Linked DNA regions of Homo sapiens: region 1 is linked to region 2. Evidence: promoter capture Hi-C in 16 types of primary human blood cells and fetal thymus (Javierre and others, 2016). All regions are on one chromosome and are shown on one strand. Each heading gives the region's core, a stretch centred on a gene start or on the middle of the fragment in contact. The rest is flanking DNA. Distances are from core to core; before and after follow the strand shown.

The links. The method cuts DNA at HindIII sites, captures the fragments that hold promoters and counts their contacts. A CHiCAGO score of 5 or more calls a contact.
Region 1: a contact is called between a fragment that was not itself captured here and the fragment with the promoter of PRKCH in region 2, in 1 of 17 cell types (non-activated CD4 T cells). The highest score is 7.6, in non-activated CD4 T cells.

The regions. Positions count from the first base shown.
Region 1 is chr14:61,494,697-61,500,512 of GRCh38, reverse strand. All of the region lies in intron 10 of PRKCH (protein kinase C eta), which reads right to left. Among named protein-coding and RNA genes, the nearest start is that of PRKCH-AS2, 48 kb to the left of the region's middle. The HindIII fragment of the contact is 536 bases long and covers 4,032-4,567 here.
Region 2 is chr14:61,317,867-61,323,413 of GRCh38, reverse strand. PRKCH (protein kinase C eta) reads right to left here and starts at 1,835. Exons shown (of 14, transcript NM_006255.5): 1 at 950-1,835. The coding sequence starts at 1,312. It overlaps PRKCH-AS1 (PRKCH antisense RNA 1), which reads left to right and starts at 596. Exons shown (of 5, transcript NR_186042.1): 1 at 596-879. RefSeq lists enhancers at 403-946, 947-1,491 and silencers at 1,453-1,622, 1,773-2,042, 4,669-4,963. The HindIII fragment of the contact is 5,451 bases long and covers 1-2,732 here.

The sequences.
Region 1 (5,816 bases), core at 3,050-5,549, 170 kb before region 2:
TCCAGTTAAAGACCAAGGATGGGCATGGTGGTTCAAGCTGTAATTCCAGCACTTTAGGAGGCCACAGTGGGAGGGTTGCTTGAGCCCAGGAGTTTGAGACCAGCCTGGGCAACATAGCGAGACCCCATCTCTAAAAATATTACAAAAATTAGCTGGGTGTGCTGGTACACACTTGTAGTCCCAGATACTTGGGAGGCTGAGGTGGGAGGATGGTTTGAGCCCAGGAGCTCTAGGCTGCAGTGAGCTGCACCGCTGCACTCCAGCCTGGGCAACAGAGGGAGACCGTGTCTCAAAAAAAAAGACCAAGTCTTACCCAAAAGAAGTAACATGAGCTATAATAACATAACTCAGTTCAGTTAGCCAACTGCTAGTTCAGATAGTTCTGATTTCGTAAGAGAAGAACGTGACAAGTCAACCGGATATTGATCCAAGTATCTAGAATGCCTAATAACATGGATGGTTTATGGATTACTGAGAAATCAGTAATCCTGAAGAAACAGCCAGAACGAGCGACTATCAGGCTAATAGTATTTCCTTTGTTAACAGGTAAACTAGATTGGGAGACCCAGACTGCCTTCACATATCTCCACAGCTTTCTTGTAAGAGAGCTGTATTTTTTTTTTTAAGTCTACCCCTTATAGGTGGTCCAGAACCAGTGAACTGAAGCTACTGGGAAACAATGTTTGAGTCAACAGAAAGGCGAAATTTCCAAAAGCCGTACATCCCTGAAAGTGGAGGAAGTATAAGTTCCTCTTTGCTTATAGGTGTTTAAGTACGGAAAAAAATGACTGCTCGGCAGATGTTGGATATTCATGCTTTGAAAGAAGAAGGGTATATAACTTTGAACTCCATTCCAGCTTTGAGATTCTAGAATTTTGTCAGCGGAACACAGTAAATTTTGACGCAAATGCCAAGAACAGGGTAGAGCAGCAATTCTGTACGTGAAAGCACAGGCTTACATGGCTACTCTGGAGGCCAGAGGAGCAGTGAAAAGGGAGGAGCAAGATGTGAGGGGCCAGGCAGTCAAAGCGCCACCTTCCCATTGCTGCACCAGCCACACACCTAGCAAACCAGACACCCCCAGGACACTGTTCTCCAGGGTGTGGGGTAGTTTGCCTGTTAGGTTTCACTAACTTCTCTTTGCAACTGAACTGAGAAATTCATCATGTGTGAGCATTTTCACCAAAAAGCAACAGAGCACTTGTACCACTTCACATTTCTACTTACAAAGTTTACAGAAAAGTACAATTTGACATTTGCAAGACAAAGGAAAAAATTCCCCTTTCAGGGACATGCTGCAAACTATTTATCAAAAGGTACACTCTAAAACCACAGTGTACTCAGCTTTTTTTCCTGCCAGGCTTAAGTACTGGGATCTAGGAGAAGGATTTGGTCTCAACACACCTCAAAATAGAGCTCCAAGCCTAACATGCATGGCTTAATGAGCCAAACGCATGACAACGCCTCGGTCTAATCCTTGGTTATTCTCTCGTGCCTGTCTACTGTGTGTTCCACTGTAGCAGGAGCTGTTTTCCTTAGGGCTGAAATCATTTCCGGGTAGATTTGGCACTATCAAACCAAGTAGCTGCAAAACATGTTGCTTAATGTAACTGAAAACCCCAAACACGTGTATGAATGAATGGCTGTAATGGACTGAATGTTTTGTGTCCTGCCAGAATTCATATATTGAAGCCCTAAGCTCTAATGTGATAGCATTTGGAGGTAGGGCCTTTGGGAGATAATTGGGGCTAGGTGAGGCCACAAAGGTGAGGTCTCATGATGGAATTTGTGACCTTATAACAAGAGACACCAGAAAGCCTGTGCTCTCTCCATCCCCTCACCGCATGAGAACACAGCAAGATGGCAGCCACCTTAAAGCCAGGAAGAGAGCCCTCATGAGGAACCAAATTGGCCAGCACCCAGATCTTGGAATTCCCAGTCTCCAGAGCTGTGAGAAATACATTTCTGTTCAAGGAATCCAGTCTGTGGTATTTATTATGGCAGCAGACTAAGCAGTACTGAGCAGACTAAGACAATGGCTTTGTGACTTCTGTAGAACTGGGTTTCACAGACAAGGAGTGGTCACGGCGTGAGGCTGGGGCTTGACAGAACTTAACTGATAAAACAGCAGGTTACCAATTTCTGACATCATGTTGAAAAACATAGTATCACATGAGATCACTTCTAAAATAGCATTTCTGCCCAGGTGCGGTGGCTCATGCCTGTAATCCCAGCACTTTGTGAAGCCCAGGTAGGGGATCACTTGAGGTCAGGAATTTGAGACTAGCCTGGCCAACATGGTGAAACCCCGTCTCTACTAAAAATACAAAAATTAGCCGAGTGTGGTGGCGCATGTCTGCAATCCCAGGCACTTGGGAGGCTGAGGCAGGAGAATCGCTTGAGCCCGGGAGGAGAGGCTGCAGTGAGCTGAGATCAAGCCACTGCACTCCAGCCTGGGTGACAGAGTGAGACTCCATCTCTAAATAAATAAATAAATAGGATGGCATTTTTTTAATGATAAAAAGACAACACTTGTTCAATACAGAACATTTGAAAACCATCAAAAAGAAAATAAAAATCACCTATATTACCTCAGACAACAACTGTTGATGTGCTGGTGTTTATCCTCCTGTAATTACTTTTCTCTACAGAGAGTAAAACTGACTGATGGGATGAAGTCTTTCTTTGGGTAGTCTCTTCTGATCATAACTGCCATTACACTCATGTAGTCAGTTTAAAGAGCCCATCCTCTTATACTGAAAAGGACACTCCTGAGAAGCAATTCTACTTTGAAGACACTCAATAGTTTCAATGTGGATATCCACAGCCTATAATATCAACACAGAATCACTGGGTGCCTATGGGGGTGTTTGGGGACTAACTGAAAGGGGCACTAAAAACTTTCTAGGATGACAGAAATGTTCCATATAGTATTTGGAGTATTGATTACACAATGTGTACATATGTCAAAATTTATCCAATTGTGCACTTAAGATCTATGAGGGGAACTAGAAAAATGGCACCAATACCCGTCACTGGAACATGTGTTTGATGCTTTTCCCAAAAGTGGTAGCAAACAGAATGTTTAAAAGTGAACATCACTGAGCATGTACTACATACCAGGCTCTGGGCTAAAGGCTTTACATGCACCTCCACATCACAAATTTAATTCTAACAACCACCCTCAGGTGAGTATTTCCAGGACTTCCATTTTATCATTGAAGAAACTGAGGCTTAGAGAGGTAAAGTAACCTGATCAAGATCCCACAACAGAGAAGTGGCAGAACCAAGACTGGAAACACCCAGGTCCATTCTACTCAGGAGCCCCAGCTCTTATCCACAATGCCAGCTCTAAAAGTCGTTAATTTGTGTGCCTTTCCAGGAATCTGTTCTAAGGAAAGAATCGAAGTCAGATCCAAATAAATATGTATGAGGATATAAATGCATCACTACTACAGATGTGCAAACATCCTTTTCGGTCAATCAGAGAAACTTTCCAGAAGGCTTTCATTTATTTAAAAAAGACTGCTTTGAGTTATGAGAAAATCATGGGTTTGGGCCAGAATAAGACAATCAATGGGCAGCTCTTCCCAAGCTGAGTGTCATATCATAGCGCTGTCATGAGGAGTAGGTGAGTTAATGCAGAGAGCTCAGAATAGAGCCTGGCTCGTAGTAGATGCTCAATAAATGGTAGCAATCATAATATATTCTCAGCCCTGACCTGTCATCTTAAAATAAAAAAAGCGTAGAATTTGAGGCCTTGGTCAATTCCATGAACACCTAAGAACACCTAACTCTCCTGTCATTGTCCTAGGGGCTGGGCTTGGACAGCCACAGTCCCTGCCTTCATGAACCCATATGCACAGGGGCACAGCCTATGGAAAGCACTAAGGGAAGGGTTTCACGGGATGCCATGGGAACAGAGGGGGCACCTAACCTAGATGGAATCTGGAGGGTAGGGGAGTCCAGGAAAGGCTTATCAGAGGAGGTGATGACTAAGATGAGACTGCAAGAATTGGTAGCTGGAAGCTTGGCAAAGAGATGGGGGAGCATTCTAAGCAGGGGGAAACGTGTGGAAAGGCCTGATGGGTGAGGGAACTCAGCACCTGCATGGATTCAAAAGGATATCATGGAGTGGAATTGTAGATTCCACCACATACTGTGTGACCTTGAACAAGTCCTTTCACTTCCCAGAGCCTCAAATATAGGATAATGTCACTGACCTTTGTCTGCAAAATAAGGATAATGCCACTTACCTTGTGCAACTGTCATACAGAAGATACAATTAAACAGAGGAGTTTATCCTTACAGGACAAATGCTCAACACATGTGGTTAGCATTCTGTATTGCAGAAAGAAAACAAAAAGGCTTGGGCCCTCGACGCCCATGACGCCCGAATTCATCTGCTCCAGCCCACTGGTCCCTCTGCTGCTCCTTGATCCCACTGCGCACTCTCCCTCCAAGGACTTGGCCTAGAACACTCTTCTCCCAGATATTCACATGGAGCTGCCTCCTCCCATCCTTAGGTCTTTGTTCATCTGCTCAAATGTCCCTTATCAGAGAAGCTTTTAAAAATCTCTGTGTCAAACAGTAAATCTTTGTTACTGAATTTTATATTGCTCCTACCAAGTTTTTTATCCATATACTGAATCACCCTAACATTCAATATATTTTTGTCTTTTGTCCTACTTTTGTGTTCTTTCTATATTTTGTCCTACTACTTGTGCTAGAAGTTAAGCTCCCTGAGAGGAGGGGGTTTTGTCTGTTTTATTTCCTGTATTTTTCCAGAGCTCACAGTAGCGTCTGGTACACAGTGAGTGCCCAACAACAAAAAAATTATTTGTTAACGGAAAGAACAAACACCCCAAGCTCGAGGGCAGGACCTGTCTTTATTCTTCTTTTACTCCCTAAGAGCCTGACAAAGGTTTGCATTGGGTAGACTTTTCATAAACATTTGTTGAACTGTACAATTCAATTACTTTTTACAAATGGTTGTGTTCATTTAATACATAAAGATTAAATGACTGTATTTTTCTTGTTCAGCAAATAAATCCAAGATTCTCTGTAATTATAATGAAGCAATTGGTTGCTTGGTCAATTTGGTGGGAAGAAGAGCAAAACTGGTGGCCTGGTTTCATTAGCTGGTGAAAGCCACTAACACATTTATCAATTAGTTCCAAATAGTCACAGCCTTCACTGATGAAAAGGCCAAACCCTGAGGAGGTATGCCAGGATCAGCATTCTGGTTTAATATATGAAGTACAGAAAAATGATCAAGGTGTCCCAGGACTTAAATGTCTATCTGTTATAAAGTTAGGTCCTTTGAGAAACTGCATTACTGGGATTACACCCTCAGGATGTTCACTCCACTAATGGTCTGAAAAGGTTCTTGAATCTCCTCTCAAATTAACCATCAAACATCTGCTTTAATACCAGAAGGCGTAAACTCAAAATGAGGTCAACTGCTTCCCCTAAACATTAGAAACTGTTGAAATTGAAGCAAAATGCCAGAGTATAGTCTTCAGGTTGTACAACCTGTCACATATGCCCTAGGACTTCCTAAGAAAATTATCTCAAGGGTTTATGGTAAGTTCATGGTAAGTATATCAATCACTTGCAATTCCAAAATATTGTGAAAATACAGAGAAAATGATTTGGTTTCAAAGAAAAGCATGACCAGAGTTTACTATAGAGACTGGTCTTCAGAAGGTTGATTTTTACAAGCTAAAACTCCAATTTCTATGAAGAATTACCTGTTATTCAGGCAGTGTCTTGAGAATAATTGCTGCCTATGCCTATGGATACCAAGAAAACCC
Region 2 (5,547 bases), core at 586-3,085:
TTATAATTATCATTCCATCATCTCAAAGTGGGAACGATGACACCTGCATCACAAAGACAGTGTGAGGATTAGGCAGTAAAAGCATGTTAGCACCGTGTAGAGCGCTCTAGAAGTTTTAATTGATTTACAGCAGAAATTATGCCTCCTGGGAACTATGTGAAAAGCAGAGGCAAGGGGAGAGCTGCGGGTAGCTACACGTCAATACCCAGGAACACAGGCTGGTGATGGGGGGAGGGAAGACAGTTAACAACCTCCTGAGGAGTCCTTACAGCCTCTTCTCAGACCCATAGCAGCAGAAACCCACACTGCAGGACTCCCACCTCGGACTGACTAAGTTACTTGCAAGTATATGTAAATCTCATCTCCTTGGAAAAATGCTAAATAATAAAACTGCCAACGTGCAGACCCAGGCGCTCATTTCCCTGCCAGTGTAGCTCATGTACCTCTGGGATGTGCAAGCCGAAACACGTGTGCACGTCTGAGCGGCTGAACCAACATGTATCCATAAACATTATGAATAATACTCGCGAGAATGTACGGCTTTCTCCTAAGTAGCGCTTGAAGCACTTTACCCAAATCAAGTCCCTTTTGTATCACTCCTTCCCTGCCTTTCCTACCTATCACTCTCGTGCTGAAAGTTGGAGCTCCTTACCCAAAGACTGGGCGGAAAGGGTGACCGCCCTGGACCCCTGCCCGACTTCCCGTTAGGCCAAGCCGCTGTCCTGAAAGGGGATCGTGTCCAGGCCGGCTTCCTGGAGACACACCTGCGCCTGCACACACCCACCGCGGTCGCGTCACCAGTGCCGCGGCCACGTGGACGAAGACCAAAGTCTGGAGGGAATTCCCTCAGCCACAAAGCGATGGGAAAGCGGGACCCGGGTGAGTTTTGAAAAACATAAGGGGAACGGGGGTTGGGTGGACACAAAGGGAAGGGGTCACCGCTACTCACCCAACCCTCGAAGGTGTCCGAGGCGCCGGTCGTGCGCAGCAGCTCCTGGAACTGCAGGGTGCAGTTGGCCACGAAGTGGTCGTAGCCCAGGGGCGTCTCGTGGAAGACGGCCAACTCGAGGTGGCCGCCGTCGGTGACGTTAGCGCAAAACTCCTCGTTGTACGTGGGTTTGTTGGTCTTCTGCTTGGTGCTGGTCTGGCCCACGCGCACCTGGTCCACGCTCACCGTCAGATAGGGGTCCAGCAGCTGGTGGCCCTTCTTGAAGAGCGAGTGGCGCAGGGACCAGCGGGTGGGCTGCAGCCCCACTGCCTCACCGATGCGGACCCTCAAATAGCCATTGAACTTCATGGTGCCAGACGACATGCCGGCGCCGCTGCCCCGGCCCCGGGGGGCCGCGCTGCTTCGCAGCGGGAGAACCGGGAGTCCCGTCTCAGGCCAGCCCTCGGGACAGGTGCAGGAGTCGAGGCAGCCCTGGGGAAAGGCAGCGCCTAAGCGCCCCTCGACTGGCCATTCTGCCTCCTCCGTGGGACTTTTCCCTCCCCTCCTTCCCTCCCTCCCGAGGTGGAAAGGAGGGGAGCCCGCCGCCGAGCCCTCAGCGGGCCGGGGAAGCCCGACCGTCCCTTCCAAGCGCGCGGCGCCTCCCGGGGACTCGCGCAGGACTCGCCCCTTCTCCAGGGCCGGGCAGCTCCTCTCCCTGGAGAGCCGGACCTACCCGTCCGGTGAGCCCCAGCCCCAAGCGTCTCTTCCCCCGCCTCCTCTTGCTTCTCCTCCTGCCCCCGCCTCCGAAGGCTCACGCTCTCCCCCACTCGGCGAGCTTCAAACCAGGAAGCAGCTGCCGCCGCCGCATCCCCGGCGAGAACCTCGCACCGCCAGGTTCCAAGTTCACAGAACCCCCGCGTCCGCTCCCGCGCCTTCCGGACCCCAGGGGCGTGGCCCGCGGTCCGCGGCCCGGCCCTGCGGTGGGTGGATCCCCGCGCAAGCCCCCGGGAGGCCAGTGCCCGCTTGCGCCGCCCTGCGCGCCCTCCTTGTAGCGCTGGGTCTGGCCGTGCGCTGCGGGTTAGGGGCCACCCCGGGCGCAGGCCAAAAAGGAAAGGGTTCGTGGCCCAGCCCGAGCAAACACCTGAGGCGTGGTAGACTGACCTGGGGAGCGATGGAAGGTTGGGAGGACGCAGAGGAGGGCGCTCCAGCCAGGAACCCGCGCGGCGAGGAGTCGCCCGCCCCCTCTCTCCCAACCTCCCCGGTGGGCTGGTGACCCTGCAGGGCCATCCCCAAGAGGCCCTGGCCGGAGGCGGGGGCACGGCGGGGAGGTTCTTTTTCCTAATATTTACAGGGATGGCTCATCCCGGGGTCAGCTCGAACGCATCCTGTTTGTGCGCCTTTCCTGCAGAGGCTAATTACACAGTTGTGTGTATGTGTGTGTTTTAATAGGGCAGTAGTAATGATGGAAATCCTGTTCGCCTCCTTCCTCGGAAGGTGTGTCTTGTTGCACATAGAGCAGGAAAGGTCGGTTCTTCTGGAGACAGACATGGCCAAGAGGTAATAAGTCTCTTCCTCTGCGGGTGGTTTCTGGTCCACCCAGCTCTGCGCGGCAAGGGCAGAAAATGTTCACACACACAGGCTGTCCCCAACACACACGCGGAAGAAATTGCCTCTTCTAGGAACACTCCAGCTTGTTGTATTTGCAGTCAGAGTGGGCAGCCTTCTGATGCTTCCCACCCCGTGGTCCCTGCAGATTTTGTCTCCGGGGAGGACCTTTTAGCCTACGCTGCTATGCCGCAAAGCTTGCTCCCTGAGGGCCAGCCACAACCAATTTGTTCCCCAAAAAGCCTAGGCCACTTTTTGTTGTTGTTGTTGTTGTTGTTTTTGAGACGGAGTTTCGCTTTTGTTGCCCAGGCTGGAGTGCAATGGCGCCATCTCGGCTCACCGCAACCTCCGCCTCCCAGGTTCGAGCGATTCACCTGCCCCAGCCTCCCGAGTAGCTGGAATTACAGGCATGCGCCACCACGCCCGGCTAATTTTGTATTTTTAGTAGAGACAGGGTTTCTCCATGTTGGTCAGGCTGGTCTCAAACTCCCGACCTCAAGTGATTCGCCTGCCTCGGCCTCCCAAAGTGCTGAGATTACAGGCGTGAGCCACAGCACCCAGCCAAGCCTAGGCCACTCTTAAGATACTTGATTACATTCTGTCTTGCTATACTGGTTCCCTCGGAGCAGATTCGGCTTGCTTTCATTCCTTTCTTTCTTCCTTCCCTCCTTTCTTTCTTTTATGTTTTAGAGACTGGGTTTTGCTTTGTCATCCAGGCTGGAATACAGCGGTGTGATCATGGCTTACCATAACCTCCAGCTCCCAGGTTCAAGTGATCTTCCAGCCCCTGCCTCCTAAAGTGTTAAGATTACAGGCATGAGCCCCCGTGCCTGGCCCCAGGTTCATCTTTCTAGCCCCCACTCCTCTAAGGCCCTGTTCAGAACTTTCTAATTGAGTAGGTTCTCAACGATTTCACATGAGTGCAAGGAGGCCTGACCCGTAATAACAGCACTATACAGAATGAAAACAAGTAAGGACAATGGGCCAGGGGGGAAAGGGCCTGTCTTGAAAACACCAAAGCTTCCTTAGAGAACAAGGCAGGGATGCAACGCATCACTCTAATGACATCTTAGCTTTAGGCAGGGCTTGTAAAGCCTGCTCCCAAACGTCCAGGGGGCTCCTGTTTGGCCTTAGTGCTCCAGGGGAAGATGTCGCATCTACCCTGTGGGTCAGCTCTGTCACCCTTTCCTCCAAACAGCTGAACTCTAGCTTTAAGAGCCACTAAAGGATTTGCTCCTGTTGGACTTTGGGGCTAAAAGAAAACAGTCCCCATACAGAATCATGGGGTGTAGACTTTAAATTTTTTTTTAAATTTTAAAAAGAAAACAGTCCCCAAATGGTAGGTGGCCACACAGCTGTCCTGGGACTGGGATATGACGATACCAGACACTCCATCTTCACCCTATCAGTACCTATCAGGATTGGCAATGGTGACAGAGCAGTGGGTCAGACAGCCATGGTGCCTGCCCTCCTGGGGCTTACAGTCCCACAAGGAGGAAAAACAACTAATAGAAGAGGGTGCAGTGAAGGAAAAGCCCACGGTGCCAAGGGGTGATGTATTATAACTGGATGGGTGGTCAGGGAAGGGTTCCTTGAAAAAGCAAATAGCAGAGAGATCAGCTCATTGAGAGCTCCTGAGGAGACAGATGGGTTGGCCTGTTTGGGAACCAAAAGCACCCTACGTGGCTGGAGCTGAGGAAGGCGTGGCTGGAGCTGAGGAAGGTGAGGGGAGAGTGGCTGAAATGAGCTTGCAAAGGTGGTCACACTGACCAGACTGGTAGATCACAGGAAAGCCTTGGACATTATCTATGGGCCACTGGACGCCTCTGAAGGCTGTTAAGCAGAGCCAGGGTAAGATGAGGATTTGTGTTTTAAAATACCTCTCTGGGGACAGGCAAGGTGGCTCACACCTATAAACCCAACACTTTGGGAGGCTGAGGCAGGAGTACTGCTTGAGCCCAGGAGTTCAAGACCAGCCTTGGCAACATGGCAAGACTGTCTCTACAAAAAATAAAAACTAAAAAAATTAGCTGGATGTGGTGGCATGTGCCTGTAGTCCCATTTTATTTTTTTAGTAAAATAAAATATCTCTCTCGGGGGTGGATTGGAAGAAGCAGCACGAGTGTGGGGAGACCAGTTTATGAAGCTGTTGCCAAAGTCCAGAGGTGAGAAGATGGTGGCCAGGACTCAGGTGGTAGTGATGGAGATGAAGATAAATAGATGAATTCAAGAAGTGTTTCAGAAGTAGAACTGACAAGTCTTGATGACAGATTGAAGGGAATGAGGAAGAGGACGGTATCAAGGATGACTTGCAGAATCTGGCTTGAGCCAACTGTGTGGACTAGGGAGCTATTAGGGAGTTAAGAAACGGCATGAGACAAGGTGTGGTGGCTCATGCCTGTAATCCCAGCACTTTGGGAGGACAAGGTGGGGGGATGGCTTAAGCCCAGGAGTTTGAGACCACCCTGCGCGACATAGGGAGACTCTCATCTCTACAAAAAAAAAAAAAAAAAAACTTTTTAAAACTAGCCAGGGCACGTGCCTGTGTTCACAGGGGAAGCCAAGGTAGGAGGATCACTTGAGCCTAGAGAGCAGCCTGGGCAACAAAGTGAGGACTCGTTTCTACAAAAAAATATAAAAATTAGCCAGGCGTGGTGGCAGGTTCCTGTAGTCTCAGCTACTCGGATGCTGAGGCAGGAGGATCACTTGAGCCTGGGAGGTTGAGACTGTAGTGACCTATGATCATGCTACTGCACTCCAGCCTGGGTGACAGAGTGAGATCCTGTCTCAAAAAAAGAAAGAAACATGGCAAGAGGAGATTGGGGCAGGGATAAAGAGTTGGGGGTGGGAGGGGAGGATGAAGAGCTCAATTCAAAACTTATCAAGTTTGATATATCTTGATACATTTAAGCAGAAATCTGAAGTGGGGAATTGGCTATGTGGTTGTGACACTCGGAGGGGCAGTCTCTTAGCTAAAGACAAATTTGGGAGCCATTGGTATACAGATAGTAATT